3 separate regions of the Homo sapiens genome follow, and all the other regions are linked to region 3. The links are contacts of gene promoters, found by promoter capture Hi-C in blood cells and fetal thymus (Javierre and others, 2016). All regions are on one chromosome and are shown on one strand. The core of a region is centred on a gene start or on the middle of the fragment in contact, and the rest is flanking DNA. Distances in the headings are between cores, read along the strand shown.

Region 1 (4,098 bases), core at 1,074-3,573, 910 kb after region 3:
CTTGAGTCTGGGAAGTCAAGGCTGCAGTAAGCTGTGATCATGCCACTGCACTCCAGCCTGAGTGTTGGAGTGAGACCCGGTTTCAAAAAAAAAAAAAATTATTACCTTGATTACAAGTGAGTCAAGCATCTGTTCATATGCGTTTATTGGCCAATCGTGTTTACTGTGCTTTTTAATGATGCCTTTGCTGTATTTTTTTTTGCATTCTCATTTATTGATTTTTCAGGATTCTTAAAATAGTTTAGTATCGGTCGGGTGCGGTGGCTCACGCCTGTAATCCCAGCACTTTGAGAGGCCAAGGCAGGTGGATCACCTGAGGTCAGGAGTTCAAGACCAGCCTGGCCAACATGGTGAAACCCCATCTCTACTAAAAATACAAAAATTAGCTGGGCGTGGTGGTGCTCACCTGTAATCCCAGCTACTCGGGAGGCTGAGGCAGGAGAATCTCTTGAACCCAGGAGGCAGAGGTTGCAGTGAGCCGAGATCGCGCCACTGCACTCCAGCCTGGGTGACAGAATGAGACTCCCTCTCAAAAAAAAAATTTTTTTTTTAGGTATTGATCATTTTAGGTATTAAACATTTATAACCTGACCTCAAGTTATCTGCCTGCCTCGACCTCCCAAAGTGCTGGGATTATAGGCATAAGCCACCAATTCTGGCCTCTTTTTCTCTCCAATTCTGAAGCTTCACCACAAAGCAGTCAGAAACCAGGGACAGTAAGCCAGGAAATGAGGAAAAGAACTGAAAAGGCAGAAGCCATCCATATTTTATTTCCTCCTCTGCCATCTTACCACACTCCTTCCCCTTCCCCCACAGCATGGCTGAACTAAGGGAGAGCAGAACCCTCATCTGTAAAAAATGCTTAAGGTTTCTTTTTCTTTCCCTCCCTCCCTCCCTTCCCTTCTGTGGGGAAAAGAGAGATCAGACTGTTACTGTGTCTATGTAGAAAGAAGTAGACATAAGAGATTCCATTTTGTTCTGTACTAAGAAAAATTCTTCTGCCTTGAGATGCTGTTAATCTGTAACCCTAGCCCCAACCCTGTGCTCACAGAGACATGTGCTGTGTTGACTCAAGGTTCAATGGATTTAGGGCTATGCTTTGTTAAAAAAGTGCTTGAAGATAATATGCTTGTTAAAAGTCATCACCATTCTCTAATCTCAAGTACCCAGGGACACAATACACTGCGGAAGGCCGCAGGGACCTCTGTCTAGGAAAGCCAGGTATTGTCCAAGATTTCTCCCCATGTGATAGCCTGAGATATGGCCTCATGGGAAGGGTAAGACCTGACTGTCCCCCAGCCCGACATCCCCCAGCCCGACACCCGAAAAGGGTCTGTGCTGAGGAGGATTAGTAAAAGAGGAAGGCCTCTTTGCAGTTGAGGTAAGAGGAAGGCATCTGTCTCCTGCTCGTCCCTGGGCAATAGAATGTCTTGGTGTAAAACCCGATTGTATGTTCTACTTACTGAGATAGGAGAAAACATCCTTAGGGCTGGAGGTGAGACACGCTGGCGGCAATACTGCTCTTTAATGCACCGAGATGTTTGTATAAGTGCACATCAAGGCACAGCACCTTTCCTTAAACTTATTTATGACACAGAGACCTTTGTTCACGTTTTCCTGCTGACCCTCTCCCCACTATTACCCTATTGGCCTGCCACATCCCCCTCTCCGAGATGGTAGAGATAATGATCAATAAATACTGAGGGAACTCAGAGACCAGTGTCCCTGTAGGTCCTCCGTGTGCTGAGCGCCGGTCCCTTGGGCTCACTTTTCTTTCTCTATACTTTGTCTCTGTGTCTCTTTCTTTTCTCAGTCTCTCGTTCCACCTGACGAGAAATACCCACAGGTGTGGAGGGGCAGGCCACCCCTTCAATAATTTACTAGCCTGTTCGCTGACAACAAGACTGGTGGTGCAGAAGGTTGGGTCTTGGTGTTCACCGGGTGGCAGGCATGGGCCAGGTGGGAGGGTCTCCAGCGCCTGGTGCAAATCTCCAAGAAAGTGCAGGAAACAGCACCAAGGGTGATTGTAAATTTTGATTTGGCGCGGCAGGTAGCCATTCCAGCGCAAAAATGCGCAGGAAAGCTTTTGCTGTGCTTGTAGGCAGGTAGGCCCCAAGCACTTCTTATTGGCTAATGTGGAGGGAACCTGCACATCCATTGGCTGAAATCTCCGTCTATTTGAGGCTGACTGAGCGCGTTCCTTTCTTCTGTGTTGCCTGGAAACGGACTGTCTGCCTAGTAACATCTGATCACGTTTCCCATTGGCCGCCGTTTCCGGAAGCCCGCCCTCCCATTTCCGGAAGCCTGGCGCAAGGTTGGTCTGCAGGTGGCCTCCAGGTGCAAAGTGGGAAGTGTGAGTCCTCAGTCTTGGGCTATTCGGCCACGTGCCTGCCGGACATGGGACGCTGGAGGGTCAGCAGCGTGGAGTCCTGGCCTTTTGCGTCCACGGGTGGGAAATTGGCCATTGCCACGGCGGGAACTGGGACTCAGGCTGCCCCCCGGCCGTTTCTCATCCGTCCACCGGACTCGTGGGCGCTCGCACTGGCGCTGATGTAGTTTCCTGACCTCTGACCCGTATTGTCTCCAGATTAAAGGTAAAAACGGGGCTTTTTCAGCCCACTCGGGTAAAACGCCTTTTGATTTCTAGGCAGGTGTTTTGTTGCACGCCTGGGAGGGAGTGACCCGCAGGTTGAGGTTTATTAAAATACATTCCTGGTTTATGTTATGTTTATAATAAAGCACCCCAACCTTTACAAAATCTCACTTTTTGCCAGTTGTATTATTTAGTGGACTGTCTCTGATAAGGACAGCCAGTTAAAATGGAATTTTGTTGTTGCTAATTAAACCAATTTTTAGTTTTGGTGTTTGTCCTAATAGCAACAACTTCTCAGGCTTTATAAAACCATATTTCTTGGGGGAAATTTCTGTGTAAGGCACAGCGAGTTAGTTTGGAATTGTTTTAAAGGAAGTAAGTTCCTGGTTTTGATATCTTAGTAGTGTAATGCCCAACCTGGTTTTTACTAACCCTGTTTTTAGACTCTCCCTTTCCTTAAATCACCTAGCCTTGTTTCCACCTGAATTGACTCTCCCTTAGCTAAGAGCGCCAGATGGACTCCATCTTGGCTCTTTCACTGGCAGCCCCTTCCTCAAGGACTTAACTTGTGCAAGCTGACTCCCAGCACATCCAAGAATGCAATTAACTGTTAAGATACTGTGGCAAGCTATATCCGCAGTTCCGAGGAATTCATCCGATTGATTATGCCCAAAAGCCCCGCGTCTATCACCTTGTAATAATCTTAAAGCCCCTGCACCTGGAACTATTAACTTTCCTGTAACCATTTATCCTTTTAACTTTTTTGCTTACTTTATTTCTGTAAAATTGTTTTAACTAGACCTCCCCTCCCCTTTCTAAACCAAAGTATAAAAGAAGATCTAGCCCCTTCTTCAGAGCGGAGAGAATTTTGAGCATTAGCCATCTCTTGGCGGCCAGCTAAATAAATGGACTTTTAATTTGTCTCAAAGTGTGGCGTTTTCTCTAACTCGCTCAGGTACGACATTTGGAGGCCCCAGCGAGAAACGTCACCGGGAGAAACGTCACCGGGCGAGAGCCGGGCCCGCTGTGTGCTCCCCCGGAAGGACAGCCAGCTTGTAGGGGGGAGTGCCACCTGAAAAAAAAATTTCCAGGTCCCCAAAGGGTGACCGTCTTCCGGAGGACAGCGGATCGACTACCATGTGGGTGCCCACAAAAATTCCACCTCTGAGTCCTCAACTGCTGACCCCGGGGTCAGGTAGGTCAGATTTGACTTTGGTTCTGGCAGAGGGAAGCGACCCTGATGAGGGTGTCCCTCTTTTGACTCTGCCCATTTCTCTAGGATGCTAGAGGGTAGAGCCCTGGTTTTCTGTTAGACGCCTCTGTGTCTCTGTCTGGGAGGGAAGTGGCCCTGACAGGGGCCATCCCTTGAGTCAGTCCACATCCCAGGATGCTGGGGGACTGAGTCCTGGTTTCTGGCAGACTGGTCTCTCTCTCTCTCTTTTTCTATCTCTAATCTTTCCTTGTTCAGGTTTCTTGGAGAATCTCTGGGAAAGAAAAAAGAAAAA
Region 2 (3,822 bases), core at 1,119-3,618, 660 kb after region 3:
AATTTTTCTTTTAAATGAAGTTTGAAATTTGATTTTTACAGTAAATATTTTAATTAGAAAATGACTATTTTAATTACTACAAAGCTGACTTTGTGATTTTTAGTATTTCAAGTACTTTTACTTGGCTTAAAGTGATTTAGGAGGGCATTAAATCACCCTCAACTTCATCCAGGGGCAAGCAGGAGGCGGGGGGATGGGTGGGAGGGGACCTCAAATCTATATAACTATTCAAAGTGGTAGGGATGAAAGTATTTTACTTCTGTGCTACATATGGAGTCCTCATTTCAACATATTGGATTTAGTTTGTATGATGTTTCCAGGTAATGCAACCCTGTCATCTAGAAATTATAATTTTACCTCCTAGTTTCCAATGCTTGTGATATTTTAGTTATTAGAAACTGTCATAATTCTGCAAGCAAAATGAAATACACCAGACACACAGAGTTCTTCAGTCATTAACATCACTTACATAGTGATCCATTTTCAGTTATCATGGAATGTACACACAAAACCATGATAAATAACAATTAGCACAGACACATTCAGTTTCCTGTGATCTTACCTACTCCACAAAGCCACAATCCTATGGATCCTACATGACATTCACAACCCTGTTGAGCCCATCTTATAATTCCATACAAACATAGCAAAGCAAACTCAGAAACTACTTACTCCAGTTACACAATCTCACACACACAAATCACAACTAATCATTCTAAAAGGCTTATCAGCTTCTTGGAAAGTTAAATGTAAACTTACCAATTACCCAGCAACTTTTCTTCTAAATATTTGCCCAGGAGAAATGGAAACGTGCCAGCTTTATTCGTAATGTATAAAACCTGTAAATATGCCAAATGTTCAACAACAGAAAAATGACTACACAAATTGTGGTATATTTGCACAATGGAGTGCTGTTCAGAAAAAGAAAAATGAACTACACATGAAATCTCACACACATTAGGGTAAACTAAAGGAGAAATATGGAATTCCGGAACTGACAGTTACAGTGACACAAATCAGAACTATGGCTGTCTCTGCTTTGAAACTGACTGGAAAGGACACCAGCAAACTCCGGTGGTGCTGGTGTTGTAAACCAAAAATAAAATCCTAAGCACACCCAGACCATCTTGAATGGACCCCTCCTCTTGGCCAGGGCATTCCTAACCTGAAAAACTAGTAAAGCCATGATGGAAAGGCGGGGGTGGGCGGGTCGGACATGCTTCATTATACCCTCCTCCATTTTGGAATTACTGATAGAAAAGACCCCAAGTCTGAAAAGAAACATTTACAATCTATTCTCTGTGAAGCGTGCTACCTGGAGACATTCCTAAGTCTTACGTCAATAACTCTTTCAACCCATTGCCAATCAAATAATCTTTGAATCTACCTATGACCTGGAAGGCCAGCCACCTTCCAGCTGTCCCGCCTTTCCGGAGGGAATCAATGTACATTTTACATGTATTTGATTGGTGTCTCATGTTTCCCTAAAAGGTATAAAACCACATATATCCCGTCCACCCTGGGCACAGGTTCTCAAGATCTCCTGAGGGCTGGGCCACCGGCCATTGGTCACTCATATTTAGCTCAGAATAAGTCTCTTCAAATACTTTAGAGTCTGAGTCTTTTCGTCAACAGTGTAAAACACGCCCTAAGGCAGACACACACACACTGAACCGCCGCTACCTGCCAGATTCCATCTGGGGCCTTTCTCATGGTGCAAAACGGACAAAAACTCCAAGTCACCCTCAGGTTTACGACCACGGGTCACATCCTGAGGCCCCCACACTTAGAAGCCAGAGTGGAGCAAAACCTCGCCCGACTCAGGCTCCGAGTTCTCCCCTCGACCCTCCCCAGCCTAAAGGCTGTACCCGCTTCAGGCCTTCCCAGCCCGGCCCTCCAGTTCCTTCTTCGGCCTCCCTCAGCCTGGGGTCCGGGTTTCCTCCTCGGCTGAGCAGCCGGGTCCGCGACTCCCTTCACCCTCCCCGGCCCGGGCTTCCGGTTCTTTCCAGAGGTGAGGCAGGGGCCACCTAGAATTCCGCGGCCCCCCACCTCCCCCAAGACCACCCTCGCCCCAGCTTCCTGTTCCCCATTCTGTCCTCCCAACCTGGGTTCCCGATTACTGCCTCGACTTCACCTTGCCGTCAGGGACCACCAGCCGCCTCTTCCGCGCCTAGGGGACGCGCAGCGGCAGCCTCTGCTGATGGCAAGGGTCTGCGCACCCGGAAACTCCAGGGTCTGGGGCGTGGTGCGGCCCCTGCGGCCAGCGGGCTCCGCTTGAGCTTCAGGGCTCTTTCGTTGTTGGACTACGTTTCCCACAGGCCTCAGGGCCGCGGATGAACTTCGACCTTTGCTTCCTTTTCCGGTGTTGTGGTTATTGAGTTAAGCCTGGCGAGTCGAGGTGACCCGGGCCGGGCTGCGGGAGGAGCTCGCGGTGAGGTGGCCCCGCGCTGCCGGGCGAGGTCGGTCCACGTGGAGCCGGGAGCCTGAGGCCTCTGTACGCGGGAGCTGCGGACGATGGTGGTTAGTGCTATTGTTTACGACGTCATTGTGGTGTGTGTGTGTGAGAGACGGAGACCCTAGTGTGTGCCGTGGGTGCTGTTTGATCGGACTCAGGACGGTGAGTAGGGGCGGGGTCTATCGTGTGACCCTGGTCTACGGTGACGTGATCGTGTGACAGCACTGTTGTGACCAACTATAAGTGTGAACGGGGTAGAAGTGTTTTTTTGTTTTTTTTTGTTTGTTTGTTTGTTCGTTTTTTTCCGTGAGCCTGTAGGAGTTTGTTTTGGGTAAAGCGTCATTTTTCCGACTCTGTGATGTCTGTGATGGAATCTCTTCGTGAGGTCTTATACACACACACACACGCATATAGATAGATTACATAGATGATATATAGAAGATAGATAAATGATAGATAATAGATAGATAGATAGATAGATAGATAAGATAGATAAATGAAGTTTCCTGGGAAGACGTGAAGGGGAGGGCATAGGTGTAGTATTCATTCCTGGGATAACTCCCCTTGCATGAGTTTGGAGGCCATTTATACATTAAAGAACTACAGTATTTCCTGAGCTGTGTTCCCTAGAAACTGCTAGGCATTGGTCGTACCTTTTTCTCGGATGTGGGGAGGAGTCGACAGTATTCTAGTTTCCCTCTTCGATCTGGGTGTGTTTGTTGTGTGTGATGGGCTTTTCTGGTGGTGAACACTGTGTTCTTATTTAACCAGTCCAGGATGTCATGAGTCCTTTCTCCCTCTTGGTTATGTAGTTCTGCAAGTGAAGGCCCCCTGAAGTGGAAGACAGCATTGGTACTAATGGCCAACTCAAGGTTAGTTTTTTTTTTTGTTCATTTACCTGGTCCCTTGGTTTTCTCTTCCCAATTAACAACAGGACCGTAGAGATGGGTCCCCTTGTCCTCCATTGCCTTTCCAAATGCCCATTTCCCTTTCATTGAATATTCACATATGCATTAGGTAAATCATTCAATTCTCCCATGTGCTTCTTTTTTTCCAAAGGATTTTTATGGTATAGAAATACAACTCCTGGAGGAGAAGTTAAAACTTTTTTTTAGAATGTAATTTGTTAAGGAGGAGACGAGTGATTAAGTAGAATGGCACACTAGATACCTTTGATCTTATTTACAGACTTGATTTGCAAACAAAGCAAGATAGGAGATGGTAGGTATTAATCAGTAAGTGACAAAGTTGGCTTTGGAGACATTTAGGAGTGGGAATATGATAGGAGTTTTATGCAGAGAGGCTATGTCAACAAGGGCAGGGAGTTTTTCCAGAACATTCATGAGGGGATTTAAGTGGTGACAACC
Region 3 (4,210 bases), core at 951-3,450:
ACTGCGCCCGGCAGATCTTGCAGTAACTTTCATCTAGTTAAGCTCCCAAGTAAAGTTTTGAAACTGCCCTCTTCTGTCTTCCACTGCCAATGTCATCTTCCAAACCAGAATCAACTCTTACCCAGACCAGTGAAGTAGCCTCCTCAACCAGTCTCCCCACCAAGCTCTCTCACCCTTTAATCTATTCAGGGAATAGTATCATTTGGCTTAGGTTTCCACTGCTCAAAGTCCGAACTCCTTACAATCTCCTGCAAAGGCTGAATGCTGTGGCTCCTGCCTGTCTATCCAAACCCTGACTCACACTCCACTCCCACTTGATCATGGGGCCCACCAACACTGGCATTTAGTCCTTCAAACACACCAAGCTTTTCCCCATCAGAACCTTCACAGGGGTTCTTCTCTCTGCCTGGAGTTTTCTTCTCTAGTAAAACATTAAACAAGACCTAGTGGCAAGCCTAGTACTACATTAATTCTGAAGTAGTGATGAGCATAAATATTTCAATATGCCTACAATAACAGTAAAATAATATGAACGTATCTGTGATTTCCATTAATGTCAAAGTCACAGTAACTACTACTACTACTACTGCTACTATGGTTTGTCCCATACATCACGATAGGAAGAAATGTTATATCTCAATTAGAGGTTATTAAATATAAAGATGTATTTTTGGTCTGGGCACAGTGGTTCATGCCTGTAATCCCAGCACTTTGGGAGACCAAGGCAGGTGGATCATGAGGTCACAAGTTCAAGACCAGCCTGGCAAAGATGGTGAAACCCCATCTCTACTAAAAATACAAAAATGAGCCGGGCGCAGTGGCAGGCGCCTATAATCCCAGCTACTCAGAAGGCTGAGGCAGTAGAATCGCTTGAACCTGCGGGGTGGAGGCTACAGTGAGCTGAGATCACACCACTGCACTCAAGCCTGGGTGACAGAGTGAGACTCCGTCTCAAAAAAAACCAAAAAGATGTATTTTTTTCTTCTCATCCAAGTTCATGGACTCCCTGAATTCTACCTAAAGGAATCCAAAGTTAGGAACCCCTAGAGCAAGAATGATCCTTTGCAAACATGATAATATCACTCTGCTAAATCATTCAATGGATTTACACCTCATTCGGAGTAAAATTCAAGGTCCACAAGACCCAAAATCATCTACAGGTACATCCAACTCCCATCCTGACCTGCACCCAGCATGCAAACACTCATAAGCCTGCTACTTTCCTGATCTCCTCTTCTACAATTCCCGCTTTGCTCATTCAATTTCAGCCATAATGGTGGCTGCCAAAAAGCTCTGAACTCGAGTACTTGGCTCTTCCTGTTCCCTTTGCCTGAATCTCTCCTAGCAGATATTTACATTACCTGTTCCCTCACTTCCTTCAAGTCTTCACTAAAAGAACACCTCATCAGAGAGGCCCTCTCTAGCCTCTCTTCACAGCACTTATCTATCACCCACCACCTGACATTTCATATACACATGGACATATAATAATATAGAAATATTATTAATATATGATATATATTTATACTATACCAATATATTAGTTACATGTAGATAAATGTAAGTGATATATAATTCTAAAAATATTTATATATCATATAATATTAATGTCATGCTAATATTGTTTTATACATATATACTTGACATTCATGTTTATCTTCTGCTATGGTTTGAATGTCTCTCCTTCAAAATTCAGCTGTTGCCAATGTGATAGTATTAAGAGGTGGGGGCCAGACACAGTGGCTCAAGCCTTTAATCCTAGCACTTTGGGAGGCCAAGGTGGGTGGATCGCTTGAACCCAGGAGTTAGAGACCAGCCTGGGCAACATGGCGAAACCCTGTCTCTACAAAAAATAGAAAAATTAGCTGGGCGTGGTGACGTGTGCCTGTGGGCCGAGCTACTCGGGAGGCTGAGGTGGGAGGATCACCTGAGCCCGGGAGGTTGAGGCTGTGGTGAGCCATGATTGTGCCGCTGCACTCCAGCCTGGGTGACAGAGTGAGACCCTGTCTCAAAAAAAAAAAAAAAATTCCAAAAACGAAGAGGTGAGGCCTTTAAGAGATGATCGGGCTTCAAGGACCCATCCCTCAAGGATGGGTTTCGGTGCTCTTACGAAGGGGCTTGATGGAAGGAGTTGGCTCTCTTGCCCTACTGCCTTCTGCCACACGAAGATGCAAGAAGGCCCTCATCAGATGACAGTGCCTTGATCTTAGAATTCTTAGCCTCCAGATCTATGAGAAAATAAATGTCTGTTCTTTATAAATTACTCGATGTGAGGTATTCTGCTGTAACAGCACAAAATGGACTAAGACATTTTCTCTCTTACCCTCTAGAATGTAGGCTTCAGAAGTGCAGAACTTTAGAATGCCTTCATGAATACTACAGTCCCAGCCCTTGGACCAATGCTTGGTACATAGTAGTGCTCAATAAGTACTCTTCTGGTTCTCCTACTTCATCCCAAATCTCTCCTGCTCTGCCACCTCTTCCTTTTTAATATAGGCACAGATCCTTTTTTTTTCTTGGCCCCAACAATATCTCTATACATAGTGATTGCAGTCACTTCCAAGGCTCCACCTACTACTTCAATAGGGATTAATTCCACTTCTACATAGTTAGCCTTTGACTTTCTGCTAAACTCCTTATCTCATTTCTCTTTTATACTACTCTACTTTGTGGAAGTCATATATGTATATATTTTAGCACCACTTTTGGACCTTGAATTTGTAAAGGTAACACAATTAGTAAACTGTAGCACCTGGAAGATTCCCTTACACAAACCAGGAAATTAAAAAACGTTCCATAAAGGAAACATTGAAGACAGTCTGATAAAACAGGTCACTGACAGGCAGCTATAATGAAGACCAGTACTTGGGCAAGGGGTGTGTGTGTGTGTGTCTCTGTGTGTGTGTGTGTGTGTGTGTGTGTGTGTGTGTGTGTGTTCACATGTGTGTATACAGACGCAATTATATTATTTTGGGGAGTGGTAGTAGAAAACACCTGTACAAGTCTAAAAAATGCAGAAGAGGGGCCGGACGCGGTGGCTCATGCCTGTAATCCCAGCACTTTGGGAGGCTGAGGCGGGTAGATCATGAGGTCAGGAGTTCAAGAACAGCCTGGCCAATATGGTGAAACCCCACCTCTACTAAAAATACAAAAATTAGCTGGGCATGGTGGCATGCGCCTGTAGTCCCAGCTACTCAGGAGGCTGAGGCAGAAGAATCGCCTGAACCCGGGAGGCAGAGGTTGCAGTGAACCAAGATCGCACCCTGCACTCCAGCCTGAGCGACGGAGCGAGACTCCGTCTCAAAAAAAAAAAAAAATGCAGAAGAAGAAAAAGAATTAGCCAGGCATGGTGGCACAGGCCTACGGTCCCAGCCACTTGGAAGGCTGAGGCAGGGAGACTGCCTAAGCCCAGAAGTTTGAGCCTACAATAAGTTATGATCATGTCACTGCACTCTAGCCTGGGTGACAGAGCCAGACCCTTTAAAAAAAAAGAAAAAAAAAGAGAGAGAGTAAAAAAAGCTAGCAAGCAGCTGAATCTAAAATACGGGTAAAATAGGGTTTTTTTTAGAGAAGTAAAAGGTACCTTCTGCTTGAAATTAAGAGGAGGATTGGAGAGGAGTAGTAGAAATAGTGGTAAGTGAGGAAAAGGGCGAAACAGGTTATTTAACAACTATGCTAAAAGGACTTCATTTTCTCCACTGGCCTAGTTTCTTGATGGGAGCTTCAGGGATAACATCTCAAAGGTGCTGTTTCCTCCCTGACCAGCTGAGTTCTGACCTATCGTGACTTTCTCCTGTCCGGTCATTTCTCACTTACCTGAACACAGGCCTCTTGTAAGCTCTCTGCCAACCATCCAGGGCTCTTTCCCTTGTTCCAATAAGGAGATCACTTGAGGCTTAGGAGTGTAAAGTCCTGCTCACGAGAAAAGATATGGAACATGGTTATGCTGGGGGTAAAGGAGATCCAGTCCCTTGATGATCACAGGAAGAGATGCCACTACAGGAACAGCCAAAGAAAGATGAAGATGAAGCTTCAACCACAGCCCACTGGAGTTGCCAATTTCCCACTCTTCCTTTTCATTTCAGCTCAAACCATTTGTTTGGTAATAAAGAATAGAAATTCAGCTAGTAACCTGAAAAGCAGCTGAGAAATTCACTGTGGAAGAAGGAGACATTCCAGAGGAGAACTGGGAATCACTGGTACAGATGCC

What was found. Contacts are between HindIII fragments. The CHiCAGO score rates a contact against its expected background, and 5 or more counts as called.
Region 1: the fragment with the promoter of LINC00665 here is called in contact with a fragment that was not itself captured in region 3 in 15 of 17 cell types (total CD4 T cells, naive CD8 T cells, total B cells and 12 more); the score reaches 25.3 in total CD4 T cells.
Region 2: the fragment with the promoter of ZNF529 here is called in contact with a fragment that was not itself captured in region 3 in 17 of 17 cell types (total CD4 T cells, naive CD8 T cells, activated CD4 T cells and 14 more); the score reaches 36.1 in total CD4 T cells.

Annotation. Positions count from the first base shown.
Region 1 is chr19:36,329,943-36,334,040 of GRCh38, reverse strand. It overlaps LINC00665 (long intergenic non-protein coding RNA 665), which reads left to right and starts at 2,323. Exons shown (of 6, transcript NR_038279.1): 1 at 2,323-2,594; 2 at 3,549-3,788. The HindIII fragment of the contact is 13,687 bases long and covers 2,086-4,098 here.
Region 2 is chr19:36,571,838-36,575,659 of GRCh38, reverse strand. It overlaps ZNF529 (zinc finger protein 529), which reads left to right and starts at 2,368. Exons shown (of 5, transcript NM_020951.5): 1 at 2,368-2,520; 2 at 3,268-3,327. The coding sequence starts at 3,314. It overlaps ZNF529-AS1 (ZNF529 antisense RNA 1), which reads right to left and starts at 2,311. Exons shown (of 5, transcript NR_173348.1): 1 at 2,105-2,311; 2 at 760-839. RefSeq lists an enhancer at 2,222-2,311. The HindIII fragment of the contact is 11,229 bases long and covers 1-3,822 here.
Region 3 is chr19:37,235,681-37,239,890 of GRCh38, reverse strand. It overlaps ZNF383 (zinc finger protein 383), which reads right to left. Exons shown (of 6, transcript NM_001387601.1): 5 at 3,817-3,912. Among named protein-coding and RNA genes, the nearest start is that of LINC01535, 14 kb to the left of the region's middle. The HindIII fragment of the contact is 3,665 bases long and covers 368-4,032 here.